Linked DNA regions of Homo sapiens: all the other regions are linked to region 1. Evidence: promoter capture Hi-C in 16 types of primary human blood cells and fetal thymus (Javierre and others, 2016). All regions are on one chromosome and are shown on one strand. Each heading gives the region's core, a stretch centred on a gene start or on the middle of the fragment in contact. The rest is flanking DNA. Distances are from core to core; before and after follow the strand shown.

What was found. Contacts are between HindIII fragments. The CHiCAGO score rates a contact against its expected background, and 5 or more counts as called.
Region 2: a fragment that was not itself captured here is called in contact with the fragment with the promoter of SLC2A10 in region 1 in 1 of 17 cell types (megakaryocytes); the score reaches 6.1 in megakaryocytes.
Region 3: a contact is called between a fragment that was not itself captured here and the fragment with the promoter of SLC2A10 in region 1, in 1 of 17 cell types (megakaryocytes). The highest score is 5.2, in megakaryocytes.

Annotation. Positions count from the first base shown.
Region 1 is chr20:46,706,931-46,711,746 of GRCh38, forward strand. SLC2A10 (solute carrier family 2 member 10) reads left to right here and starts at 2,719. Exons shown (of 5, transcript NM_030777.4): 1 at 2,719-2,810. The coding sequence starts at 2,807. The HindIII fragment of the contact is 5,872 bases long and covers 669-4,816 here.
Region 2 is chr20:46,506,251-46,511,066 of GRCh38, forward strand. All of the region lies in intron 2 of ZNF334 (zinc finger protein 334), which reads right to left. Among named protein-coding and RNA genes, the nearest start is that of ZNF334, 4.9 kb to the right of the region's middle. The HindIII fragment of the contact is 732 bases long and covers 885-1,616 here.
Region 3 is chr20:46,568,550-46,573,365 of GRCh38, forward strand. All of the region lies in intron 10 of SLC13A3 (solute carrier family 13 member 3), which reads right to left. Among named protein-coding and RNA genes, the nearest start is that of OCSTAMP, 20 kb to the left of the region's middle. RefSeq lists an enhancer at 1-324. The HindIII fragment of the contact is 3,568 bases long and covers 769-4,336 here.

The sequences.
Region 1 (4,816 bases), core at 1,469-3,968:
TCATTAATTTTACAAAGGTAGCTTCAGTCCCTGAGCAAGGAGGGGGTTAGTTTTAGGGAGTGATTATTATCATCCTTGCTTCAAAGTTAAAATATAAACTAAACTCCTCTCGTGGTTGGCTTGGCCTATACCCAGAAATAAGCAAAGACAGGTAGCCGGTGAGGTCAGAGTCAAGATGGAGTCAACCATGCCAGATTTCTCTTGCTCTCTAATCTTTGCAAAGGCATTTTCAGTCCCTTAAGATCACATTAAATTAAAGTTAGATACCATCCTCACCGATTTCTCAGCTTCTGATGGTTAACTGTTCAAGGGTCAGAGGAGAGATTCAAGGCCAAGGGTGATAAGCCTCCTAGTGTCCATGTAGATATAACCTAATCTCTACTTTCTCCTGGAGATGATCCATCTCCTTTTTCTAATCAAGATAATGAACAATAATGAAATGTGTATTCGTTATTTATCACTGTATAACAAATTATTCCCCAAATTTAGTGGCTTAAAGAAACAAACATTTATTATCTCATGTCTTCTAGGATAAAGAATTTAGCATAGCTAAATTCTAGCTCTGAGCAAGAGCTCAGAATCTTGCAAGGTTGAAATCAAGGTGTCAGCCAGGACTAGAGTCACCTCCAGGCTAGGCTGAGGGAAGATTCACGTCCAAGCTCACCACAAGCTTGTTGGCCAGATTTAGCTCCTTAGGGGCTGTTGATTTAAGGGCTTTAGTCCCTCACTGGTTATTGCCTGGAGGCATTAGCTATGTGATTCAATAGCTTCGCTCCATGTGGGCCTCTCCATTGGGAAGCTCAAAACATGGCAGCTCAATTGCTTCATCAGAGCAAACAAGTGAGAGATCTCGAAACTGAACAACACAGAAATCATTTATAACCTAATCCGAAAATGACATCCACCATATTTGCCGTCTTCTATTCATTAGACGTTGCTAAGTGATACTTCTAGTGACATCTAGAAGAGAAGAGGATGCCACTAGGCCACGAATACCAGGAGGGTCTCAGTGTAATCAGACTTTTTATATGAAGGCTCAGGGATCCAGGCACCAGTATTCCAGTGACCCAGCCTCAGAAGTTACACAGTGTCACTCTGCAGGCTACTGATCAAACCAGTCACAAGCCCACTTTTATTTCAAGGGAAGGAACAACGAATTCTGGAGCCATGTTTTCAAACTGCCCCAGCTATTATTATTTTTGAAACTGTGCAAGGATCCCCTGGTTCAGAGGTCTTATGGATGCTGTCATCTTTGCTGAGATACCTGCTTGTGCCTTCAGCATGGAAGAATGCCTGTGTATCCACCTGTACGGTAGGGGTCGCTGTGACTTTGACTGGTGAGGGTACAGCCACTGGTGCACATGCAAAGGTGCCTATCTGTGAACACGTATTGAGAGGCTGGATAAGGCTGCGCCCATGTGAGTGCTGGGCTTGTACGTGCATTTTTGCCTGAGTGAGCATTAGTGGCAGTGTCCCCAGCCTACCCCTTTCCTGAATCCCAGGCTCATAGCCAACTGCCCACCTATTTCCACGTGGATGCCTGCTGAGCACCTCAAATGTCACACAGCCAAGACAGAACTCTGGATCTCCTTTCCCAGCCACAAGCTGCCCCTCTTCCAGTCTGTAAGTTCTTACGGAGCATATATATGTGATCTGCCTACTTTTCTCCAACCTCACCACAGTGACATGAGCCCAAACCAACTTCTCACCTTGCAACAGCCTCCCAGGTGGGAAGGCTGAGTATTCTGGCCCTTAACCAGTTAGAACTCCCCAGTTATCTGTCCTGCTGATGGGGTTGAAATCTACATTCCTGACCCTGGCCCACCAAAGCCCCTCCCTTAGCTCCCATCTCCCTCCTCTCTCCCTGTCTTCTCCTCTGCTCCAGACACTCTGGCTTCATTTCTGCGTTTTTTGTACCCCATAAGCTCCTTCCCACCCCGGGGCCTTTGCCTTTGCTGTTCCCCCTGCGGGGAATGCCGGATCTCTGCTCAGATATCCTCTTCTCAGATCAGCAAGCTAAAGCAGCCACCTGTGTCTGCCTAACCCACCACCGTAGTTTAACTTTCTGCCTAGTCTTTATCACTAGCTGATATTTCTCAGGATCCTTTAGTTACTTCTTTTTCGTCTTCCCCTCCTAGAATGTAAACTCTTCCCCTCCTAGAAGGTAAACAAAAGACCTGTTCTGTTTTGTTCTTCGGCCCATCCCAAGCCTAGCGTAGTGCCTGGTATGTGGTGGTGTCCAAACCCAAGCGTGGAGTGAATGAGGGATGAATCCATGAGAGAGTGAGCGGCTCCAGTGGGTATGCGCGAGTGTCTCACTCGGTGTAGATGTGTGTGTTGTGTGTGTTGTGTGTGTGCGCACGCTGGGGAGGCCAGACAAGTGTGGACCAGTGATTGGGGCACCTCTTCCCTGCAAAGAGGCCAGGGGAAGACAGTGCGTGTGGGGTCTTCTACCAGGGAGGATGGCTTGCTGGTGTGTCCCCCCCAGGGGAGGACTACCAACGAAGGGGACCCGGGAGATGGCGGGTGGGGGCCCCCGGGAGGACAGTGGGCGAGGGAGGGGGTCCTTGCCAGGCCTGGGGCGGCCGGGGGCGGTCCTGGGCTCCCCTCCGTCCCGCCTCCAGGCCTCGGGGCCTGGCTGGCCGACGTGGCGTTGGCGGCGCTGCGCGCGGGAGGGCAGGGCAGGAGGGACAGAGGCGGGGGCGGGCCGGAAAGTTTGTCCGGCGGCAGCGGCGTTGGGGACTCCGGCGGGGGATGCGCGCCCGGCCCCTCAGCGCCCCCAGCACGCCGCCGAGTCCCGCTCGCCATGGGTAAGTCCCGATCGGGCGCTGCCTGCTGGAAGCCCGACCCCTTCCCAGGGTGTAGACACCGCCCCCACGCTCCCCTAAGAGTGCGCGCCCCCTGGCTCCCCCAGGGCCGCCCCGGCCGGATACCGCCTCTCGGGTGGCCAGCCCGAGACTGCAGGCCTGCGGCGGGGGCTGGGACGGGGCTCGGTCGCGCTTCCTTCCATCTTCCTTTCTGCCCCGGAAAAGTGGCCCCTCACTTGCTGCAGCGCCCACTCGGGCCCAGGCACTCTCCCGGGCGCCCTGATCCGACAGCCCCAGGCAAGTGCAGCTGTTCCTGGTCTGCAGATGAAGAAATGGAGGCTCCGAAAGAAGCAAAGCAGTTCATCGATTCGCTGAGCGCGGTTGTGCCCCAGGCGCTGTTGTGGGCCTGGGGACGCTGTCGCGAACGAAACTGCGAACAAAACAGACGAACCCCCTCCTCTGGACGTGATTCTGCAGAGAGGGGACAGAGAAGGAGATTCTAACACAGCATTGGGGTGGGACGCGTGGGGAATGGCTTTGTTGCCACTCGGGACTAGGGCTCTATTTTTCTCTCTGCATTCAGAAGCCTCGAAGGATCAGTCGTTGATTCTTGAGTGAGCACCTACTACGTGCCAGACATTGATATAGGGGTTAGAGCTTCAGCAATGAACAAAATAGACAATAAACCTCTCTCTCATGGAGGTGGCATTCTGATTGAGCAGCTGGGTAAACACGTTTATGAATAACTTCAGAGAGAGATAAGGTGTTGTGGAACCCATAAAATGGGGTGGCGTGAAGGCCAAGGGCGTGGGTTCCTTGGGTAGGTGGTCAGGGTGGGTTTTCTGGAGTAGGACGTTTTGGAGCTGAGAACTTCCTCAGAAGCGGGTCTTGCTGAGATCTGGAGAAAGAGCTTCCAGGTGGCAGCAACAGTGCAAAGGCCCTCAGGCAGGAATGAGTTTGTGTGGCCCAGGCCAGGATGGCCAGAGCACAGCGGGCAGGGCACTGAGGTCAAAGGGATGGCAGAGAGGTGTGCAGGGCTTTGTAAGCCGTGGTGAGAAGTTCAGATTTTATTGCAAATGCCACGGCAAGCTGGAGAAGGGTTTTAAGCTGGAGCGGGGCCGTGACCTGAATTATCTTTTCTTTTTTTTTTCTTTTTTTTGAGATGATCACTCTGTCGCCAGGCTGGAGTGCAGTGGCGTGATCCCGCTCACTGCAACCTCCAGCTCCCTGGTTCAAGCAATTCTCCTGCCTCAGCCTCCCAAGTAGCTGGGATTACAGGCATACACCACCACGCCCAGCTAATTTTTGTATTTTTAGTAGAGAGTGGGTTTCACCATGTTGGCCAGGATGTCTTGATCTCCTGACCTCGTGATCCGGCTGCCTCGGCTTGGGATTACAGGCGTGAGCCTCCGCGCCCGGCCCTGAATTAACTTCTCAAAGTTTGCTCTGAGTCGTTCTGTGGAGAATCACAGTCGCTAACACTGGCTATGATGTAGGTAAGCATAGAAGGTAGGCATTAATATCCCATTTGTAGATGGGGAAGCCCAGAGAGGTGAGGTGAGTTCCCCAAGGTCACACAGCTATGGAGAGGAGAAGCTGGGAAGGAGCCCCAGCATTCTGACTCCAGTCTGCATTCCTAACCACTGCACCACGTGGCCTGTCATGGTGGATTAATGGTAAAACTGGTGACCAGTTCCGGCTCTGACAGGAGAGTCCATCCTCTTAACCCCCACAGCACAGTGCCCCAGAGCCTGAGAAAAAAATGAGGCCCAGAGAGGTCAAGGTCTTCTTAAGGACACTCAGCTTAGCCCTAGCCCCTTGTTCCTGCACCTCCTATTCCTGCTAAATCAACCCAACAGCCATTTGCTGAGTGCCTTCTATGGGCAGAGCGAGGGCTGGGTGTTAGTGCTGGGGGAGGCATAAGTCATGGCTGCGGGTCTCTGTCCTCCCCAGAATTCTTACACAGCAGGGACCAGGGATTGGGCTCTCTTTATAGCCTCTGGGGGCAG
Region 2 (4,816 bases), core at 1-2,500, 200 kb before region 1:
TGAACTGATATGAAGTGAAAAAAGCAAAGTATTAAAGAATATCTATAATATATTACCTTTTATGTAAGAAAGGAGATGTAAGAAAACACACATGGCCAGGTGTGGTGGCGCACACCTATAATCCCAGCACTCTGAGAGGTTGAGGTAGGCTGATCGCTGGAGCTCAGAAGCTCAAGATCAGTCTGGGCAACACGGCAAAACCCCATCTCTACAAAAAAATAAAAAAAAATTAGCCAGGCATGGTGGCATGTGCTACTCGGGTGGCTGAGGCAAGAGGATCACTTGAGTCTGGGAGTCAGAGGTTGCAGTGAGCTCAGATTGTGCCACTGTACTCCAGCAGCCTGGGTGACAGTGCAAGACCTCATCTCAAAAAAACAAAAAAACCCACATGTAACCACTACATGTGAAAAAAAATTATGGAAAGGATACACCAGAAACTCATGAAACTGGTTACATTCAGGGGAGAGGTGGAGACAGACGGAAAGAATGGACGGATGGGAACAGAGTAGAAGAGATGAGAAGGAGTGACACTTCTCTAAAATATCTTTCTATACGGTTTTGATTCTTAGAACTATGGTAGGCCAGGCGTGGTGCCTCATGCCTGTAATCACAGCACTTCGGGAGGCTGAGGTGGGAGGATCGCTTGAACTCAGGAGTTCAAGACCAGCCTAGGCAACATAGTGAGACCCCATCTCTCAAAAAAATTTTTTTTTTTTTGCCAGGAGTGGTGGCACATGCCTGTAGTCCCAGCTACTTGGAAGGCTAAGGCAGGAGGATTGCTTGAGCTGAGGAGGTCAAGACTTTAGTGAGCTATGATTGCACCACTGCACTCCAGCCTGGGTAACAGAGCAAAACCCAGTTTCAAAAATTAAGTAAGTTAAATAAGCTTAAGTAAGTAAAAAGGAAAGAAAGAAAAGAAAGAGGAAAGGAAAAGAAAGGAGAAATGAAGGGAGGGAGGAAAGACAAGGAAAAGAAAACAAAGGAAAAACAAGGGAAAGGGAAGGGGAAGGGGAAAGGAAATAAAGAAAAGGCTAGGATGAACCCTGCAAAATAACTAGCCAGCAAAGTGTCAAGGTTGTAAGTGACAAAGAAGGACCATCGTGGGTTGCAAGAGGCTAAGGAGACAGGACATTTAACACAACCTGGGTTCCTAGGTTGGATCCTTGAACTGAAAAAGGATATTATGGAAAATAATAAGCAGAATTTGAATACGATAGATAATAATACTGTATTCATGTGAATTTCCTGGTTCTGATCACTATAATATAGTTTTGAAAGATCAGGGGAAGCGAGGTGAAGGAAACACAGGTATTTTGTGTATGATTTTTCTCATTCTTCGTATTTAAAAATAAAGCAGTAAAAAATAGGCATGCTGCCTCCACCTCTGCAGACACCTGGGCTTTGGCCTGCTGTATGTCTCACCTCACCCACATGACCATCCTAGGTCACCCGTCTTTCTTTTCTTTGATCTGCTATACATCTTTCTACTGACAAATTTTATTAGGTAATTTAATGAGGCCTTTCCCGCTATCACCACTTAACTGTCTCTTAAACCAGAAGTAGTTACATTATCCATTTTATTTCTTCCATGAATTACTTCCTCTGAAGGACCTATAAGCTTCCTGAAGATAAAGAGTATCTCATAATTATAGGCACAACAATAGACATATAAGGTCTTAATGACTAGAAAGAATGACTGGCAAAAATATTAGAAACAAAACGCCAGGGAGAAAGAGTGCCAGGGAAGAGCCCTCACTAGAAAGTTCTGTACTTGCTCAGGCAGACCCAGTGCACTTCATAGCAGAAAGTCCAAAGTAAGAACAGTGAAATGTGTTCACTTTGTGAGAAACTGAAAGGTGCTTATGACAAAAGAAAAAGAAACTCGATTCTCCCGGTGACTCAGGTCCATTCTGCAAGCAATACTGTAAGTAGAATGATGATCCATTCAGAGCAGAGGAGAGTTCACCATTTCACACAAAACAAGATTACCCAAAAAAAGAAATGATGAGTACTACTATGAGCAGGGATATGGCTACTGAGGACATGTGCCTACACCTTTAAAGGCTAATAGTCTTACTTGTGAGGTAGACAGATAATGACCAGACCCTACATGTAATGCAAAGAAGAGGGCCAGCATTGCTCTGTAAACACATAGTCTGTGGACAAAGAATATGAGGACAGGAATGGGTCCTGTGACGAGATGGCTCCTGGCTATGTTCACAATGTAGGCAGAAAAGGGGTAGAAAGTCAAGGAGCAAACAGTAGAAACACGGTTAAAAGCAAGAGTGTAAAATTTGGGGCATGTTCAGGAGACTAAATGCAGACCACCATCGTTCTTCAGAGGGGCTCAATGTGGGTGGTCCCTTCCATCAGGGGCATGTGGCACATCTGCGGAGACATTTTTGCCTGTCAGGGTTCTGTGGGATGCTGTTGGCATTTGGTGGAAGGAGAGGGAAGGAAGGATGGTAGAGACACTGCAACATGCAGGACCTTCTCCTACAGGAAAGAAATGTCCCAAGTCCTGTATAACTTTCTAATCTTAAATATTCATATAAACGAAAAATCCTGTTTATAATGATCTGAGCCTAGAACCTTATTCCATTTGGCACTTGAACACATAGTATTTTTATATATTTTTTATGTATATTAAATTTTCTTCAATGTAATAGTGGATACATCAAGCACAATTTGTATTTGATTTGAACTGGAACTTCAGGGATTTTCACTCTTGAAAAATATCACAAATGGCAATGCTATGTACAGTATTTGAATCATGACACATCAGTCCCATATCAGTGAGAACTTGTAATTATCACGTTCATAGAAATTTAACCTAAAAGTAATCTGTATAAACACCAGACTCCTCTTCTTTTACTATAGTTTTATCTGGGCAAGTCTATATTAAGATACATATCATTTTTAATTACTTTTTTATTTTTCCTCTATATTCGAGTTCTATTGATTTTTTTAAAAATTACACAAGTAAGTTGTATTATCTATGATCTCCAAAATAGGATAAAGGGAGGATGGCTTTTAGTTGGGATTTCTAGAAAACAGATCCTAAGGCAAGGACTTGGTCTGCATCATTCCATCTGGGAACTCCAAGCCGGGGTAGTGAGGGTGAGGGAAGTAAGGAAGGGAGGAAAGAAAGGATGTAAACAATGAGATATGAGAGGCATTAGCATGCTGCCCACCAACTCACTACAAGCCCCAAAGAGGGGCAAGTTTCCTCAGCAGGAGCATGGGGTCAGCACGTGGGTCAGCACATGGGACATCTCTGGGAGGACCACCAGGAGAAACTAACCTTGAAATAGTGCACAGAATAGAGAAAGGATGGGGAATTCATCTGCCCACCTCCTTCTCATTTTCCATTTCCCTTCATTCAAGGTTCACCCACGGTGAGTTAACTTGCGCACACTTCCAGGTTGCATCATCTGGCTCCACCATCTGGCCCCTCAGGAAGCTGGTACCACACCTCATGGTGTGTGGTTTCATCCAAGTCTAAAACAGGAGGCAGCCTGGTGTGGGTGGGTGGCATTAACTAAGAGAGATAAAGGGGATGGCAGAATATGGAAGGTTTGCATCCCAATATAGCTCCTAAGAAAGTATGTTCTGTAAAAAGATATGGGTCTGGCAGAGTTGAGAACCACCTCAGCACAGTTTGAATTGCTTGTGTAATATCTTTCTCTTTCACTAGCACATGAGCTCCATGAGGACAGAGACAGTATCTCCTTCATTCAAGCTGAATGTAGACCATCTAGCATAGCGTATCACACACAATTGTTTGATCAATATACAGTTGTTGAATGAAAGGTCCAGAGTGGTAGGAACTGAGAAGAGGCAGGAAACGGTCATGACATACATAGCCTTACAGGTCATACCAAGGATGCTGAACTTGTATTCTGCAAGTGGCGTGGAACCTCTTAAGTCATTTCTGTATTAAGACATGATCACGTTGGCATTTTGGAGGAATTGGTCAGTGTGAAGAACAGCCTTGAGGTGGGAAGAGGAAGGGGCCAAGCAGACTGCTGAGAAAGCTACTAATATTATGACAACCCACGAGAAACTGAGGCAGGAGAGGAGGAGATGGAAGTGAAAGGACAAATTCAAGAAATGTTTATGTGACAACATTAGCAAGCTCGACAAACAGGTATGGTAGGACGTGAGGAAAAGGAGAATTAAGATGGACTTCAGGCCGGGCGCGATGGCTCACGCCTGTAATCCCAGCACTTAGTGAGGCCGAGGCAGGAGGATCACGAGGTCAGGAGATTGAGACCATCCTGGCTAACATGGCGAAACCCCGTCTCTACTAAAAAATACAAAAAATTAGCCAGGCGTGGTGGCGGGTGCCTGTAGTCCCAGCTACTCGGGAGGCTGAGGCAGGAGAATGGTGTGAACCTGGGAGGCTGAGGCAGGAGAATGGTGTGAACCCGGGAGGCAGAGTTTGCAGTGAGCTGAGATCGTGCCACTGCACTCCAGCCTGGGTGATAGAGTGAGAGCCCATTTCAAAAAAAAAAAAAAAAAAAGATGGCCTTCATTTTCTGGCTTGTCTCGCTGGTCAGATGGAAGCAGCACTGATAGGGAAAAAAGAAGCAGCAGCACATTGAGCAAGTTGTAAGTATTATTTCCATGTTGGATATGAGGACTCCATGTGCCTTCTGGACATCCTTACAGAGATGTTCAGCAAGAATCTCAAGCTGAGGTCCTCAGAGGCAGAAATACCTCAGAGCATAAAGACTCACAAGTTAAAACCACAAAGGGCATGAAAAAAAATCAGAAAGAATAATGGGCTAACAATGGCATAGCAATGTTCATG
Region 3 (4,816 bases), core at 1,303-3,802, 140 kb before region 1:
CTCATGAAACTAAGGTGTTTCTGGTACACCTGCAGTTTGTCTGCTAGCCTGGGGAATACGGTAAGTGGCAGCGTGGAGGCCACAGCCCCTAACCTGGCTGCAAGGAGTGCTGCAGGGAGAAAATGGGACCTCTGGTTTTTCCCATAGGCCACAGCTCTGGCAAAGAGTCTGACCTGACAGCTCTGTGCGCAATTAAAGGGAGAGGGGCTAGAGAGAGGGAATATTAATGACTCGGGCAAGTGAGAAGCCAGGAGCTGCCCCGTAGCTGGGCCTCTGAGTGACCGGGCTTCCAGCCAGCATCCTCGCAGCCACACAGGCCTTGGCACAGCTCCAGCGCTGGAGGGAGGTCTGGCAGCTTCCTAAGAGAGGAAAACGCCTGTTGCGTAGGGTTCTACTGGGGACTCTAAAGGGACTTCACCTGCCCTTTCCCATTTTATTTTATTTATTTTTTTGAGACAGAGCCTCACATTGTCACCCAGGCTGGAGTGCAGTGACACAATTATAGCTCACTGCAGCCTCTATCTCCTGGGTTCAAGCAAGCCTCCCACCTCAGTGTCCTGAGTAGCTAAGGCTACAGGCACACAACACCATGTTTGGCTAAATTTTTTTAAGTGTTTTTTTTTGTAGAGACAGGGTCTTACTATGTTGCCCAGGCTGGTTTGAACCTCTGGGCTTAAGCGATCCTCCTGCCTAGGCCTCCCAAAGTGCTGGGATTACAGACATGAGCCACCATGCCCCAGACTCTTTCCCATATTCTTAGGAATTGGAAGCTTTGTTTCCTTGGAAACACACAGCCCCACAGTATTCCCAGGGACTCCAGGGACCAGCAACAGCCAAGGTCAGAGGTGGCATGGCCAGAAGGTGAAGAGAAGGGGCTCTGGAGTCAGACTGAGTTTGCTTCCCAGCTTAATCTTTTCTAGCTGTCACTTAACTTCCTAGGCAAGTCACTTAACCTCTCTGTGCTAAAATTTCCTTATCTGTAAACGAGGGATAATGATAGTGCCTGTCCCAGAAGGTTATTGTTGGGAGAAAAGGAGTGAATCTATAAAGGGCCTAGGAAAGTGGCTGGGCGCTTGGTTAGCGCCTGCCATAACCAGTAGCATGAAGTCACAAGATGCCTGAAGTGATGGAACTCAGAAATCACCCAGCACAGTGGTTGTCAAATTATGTTCCTTAGTGGCCTTGAAGATGACCAGAAGTACCCAAGGCCACCTTGCAAAAATGGGAGGTGGGGAGATGGAGTTGGTACAGTGATGTTTCCCTCTTCCTCCTGTTTTCTTACTTCAACCAGGTCCTCTCTTCTTGGTGTCTTTGATATACAGTAGAGGAGCATCTTATAAGGGGGTTTGTTATGGCATAAGTTCAATATTTGAAGTCAAAAACTCCTGTGGCCAAAATACCCTTGAAAATCTTTTAAAAGGCTTTGTAAAACACAACGGGCTCGGCTGTGTGCATACAACTTTGTATAATAATTCCTAGGTAAAGAGACCAGCGAATTTGATTAAAGGAAGGAAAAAAGACAAGGCTTTATGTACATGTATAAACATTCAAACCACTGCACCATTTACAAGCTGTGTGACTTTGGGCAAATTAATTAACATCTCTGTTCCTTGATTTCTTTAAGCGATTGCAGTAAGGATTAAATAAGTGCACACGAAACACTCTCTGTACTTAGTAAGCACTGAATATGATCTATCATTTAATTTAACAAAGCAACATAGTGCTTACTCTGTGCTGGGCACTCTTCTAAGTAATTTGTAAATATTACTTAATCTTCATAGCAACCTCATGGAATACAGACTACAGATGCTCCTTGACTTACAGTGGAGTTATGTCTCAATAAGCCCATCACGAATTGAGAATATTGAAGTAGAAAATGCATGTAATACACCTAACCTACCTGTTCACATCATAACTTAGCCCAGCCTACCTTAAATGCGCTCAGGACACTGACATTAGCCTACATTTGGGCAAAATCATCTGGCAATGCTATACACTGTAGAATATCTGTTGTTTACCCTTATAATTGCTCAGCATCTACAAGAGAGTGTCCCACCACATATCACAGCCTGGGAAAAGATCAAAATTCAAGATTCTAAGTACCCTTTCTATTGAATGCATATCACTCTTTCACCATTGCAAAGTTGAAAAATCGTATGTCGAATCGTTGTGAAGTCAGGAACCATCTGTACAATTATCTCCATTTTATGGTTGAAGAAACTGAAGCATAAAAAAGCTCAGTGATTTGCCCAAATAAATAATATGACGTGCCCTAGTAAGATTCAGAATCTGGATCTTAGTCATGTCATTAGGCTTGTCTGTCCGATAAAATGAGGGTAATAATAATTGTATTAGTCCATTCTCGCTCTGCTAATAAAAACATACCCGGGTGTGGGTAATTTATAAAGGAAAGAGGCTTAATTGACTCACAATTCAGCATGGCTGGGGAGGCCTTAGGAAACTTACAATCATGGTGGAAGTGGAAGCAAACACGTCCTTCTTCACATGGTGGCAGCAAGAAGTGCCGAGCAGAAGGGGGAAAAGCCCCTTACAAAAAATCATCAGATCTCTTGAGAACTCACTCATTGTCACAAGAACAGCATAAGGGTAACCGCCCCCACGATTAAATTACTTCCCACCAGGTCCCATGACATGTGGGGATAATGGGAACTACACAATTCAGGATGAGATTTGGGTGGGGACACAGCCAAACTATGTCAATAATAAAGATGACAGACTTCTGGCAGAAAATGAGGAATGGGGAGAATACACATTTTCTCCTTACCTCTATCACCGCAACATATTTGTAAGTAAGTTTGTTGTGGCAACAGAATAAGATCAACCTTTCCTCAATGAATTAATGCAATAATAACAGTAATAATAATAGTGAAGATGAGTGTGGCTCCTGGTTTGAGCACCCAGGGTATATCACCACTCTTCTGGGTACTTTCCATACATTATGTTAGCAATTCTCAAAGCAGCCCATCTTGTAGGTCATAGCAACAATGATGTGTTAAGCACCATTACGCACCCGGTGTCTTCTAGGTGCCTAGAACAGTGGTGGGTAAGACAGACATGGTCTCTGCCTGCCCTCATGGAGCTTCCATTCTAGTAAGAGACACAATCAATAAACATGCCCACAGGATCATTTGGGGGGTAGATGTGGTATATAGGAATAGGCAGGGTCATGAGAGGAAGAGGGACTGGGGTGGGAGGCTATTCTAGATGTGGGGGCTTGGGAGGGCATTTCTGAGGGACTGAGACCTGAAGAGTGAGGACTCAGAGCTCTCAGGATGAAAATTCAACAGAGAAAGGGAAGATGCAAAGGCTGTGGGGTGCATGTGAGTCTGATGTGGCTGAGGAAGGGGCCAAGGAGACTGGAGGGGTGTTAGGAGGGAAGAGAGGTAGGTGCCAATGTTGAGACCTACATTGTCCCATACAGCTTTCTGTGTTGGCCAAGGGAAACCTTGGACTTGACTTTAAGTCTATGCAGAGTCATGACTATACGGTTTTGTGGCAGGAGAAAACTGTAGTGAGGACCCTAAGTGGGCTTAAGTGAGTTGCTGAGGCTCAGAGTAAGCACTACTTCCTGCCCTTCAGAATGAGCGCTGGGAGCCCACACACCCAGGCTCACCCTGGATTGCATCCAGGGACCTCCGATCCTCAGGAGGCTGCCAGGCTGTGTTCTGATGAGAGTGTGGGGCAGGGGCCAGGAACCAGGATGTGCCATAAGCATTCTGGTCGCTCCTGGGCCAGGCTGCGGCTGCCTGGGGAGAGGATGGTACGGCAGAGGCTGGGGAAAGGAACAGCTACTACACAAAGCCCCTGTTGAAGAGAAACTCCGGCCAGCTGCCCAGGGCTGGGCTCAGAGCCAGGGTGGCCTCTCAGCATGCCCAGCGTCCCGCAGCCCAGCCTCCACTGAGAGCCAGTGCTCCCCACACCACTTCTGGAGCTTAGGGAAACCTCTGGATCAGGGTCATCTCATCCAGCCTCCTTCCTCTAGGCCAGGCTGGGCTCAGATCACTGAGGTAAATGGCACCATTTCCACCAAGTTGCTCAAGCCACGAACCTCCACATGATTCTTGATTTTGATTTTCCTTTTCCTCAGTATCTAACCATAATAACCAACTGTGCTGGGCTGTGTTCTCATTTCTCTGCATATATTGACTCACTTAATGATCATGGCAACTTTACCAGGTGGGTGCCGTTGTGATTCCAATTTTACAGATGAGGAAACTGAGGCCCAGAGAGGTTTAGTAACTTGACAAAGATCATACACCTAAGAAGTGGGAAATCTGTGATTCCAATCCAGATGGTCTGGTTCCATCGTACTGCAAGCTTCTTCAAGATCTGGATAACATGCCACTTCCTTCAGGAAGCCTTCCCTAAGACACCCCCAGCAGGAGGCAATAGCATAAGTCAGATAGACATGAGTTCAAATCTTACCTCTGCTACTAATGAGCTGTGTTACCCAGAACCAGTTACTTAACCTCTCTGTGTCTCACGATTCCTAAAATGGAGACAAATAACAGTACTTTTGCTCATCTATTCCTTTGTTCCCTTTGAAGTCTGTATCGTTATTTATGTGTTTTTTAATTAATAAAGTAAAACATATTTTATTTAAAAATGAGCAGCTATGTAGAGAGCCTGAATGTGCCACCCAGATCCCCATCAGTGGAGATCTTGTTGCCCCAGCTAAGGGAGTGCAGTCGGCTGTCTCAGACCCCAAAAGCGGCCTCACTTGAGGTCATACCTGCACCTGGGGCAGCTTGTGTCCCCAGACAGATGGATGCTGGGATACAAGGGCCTGGCTATC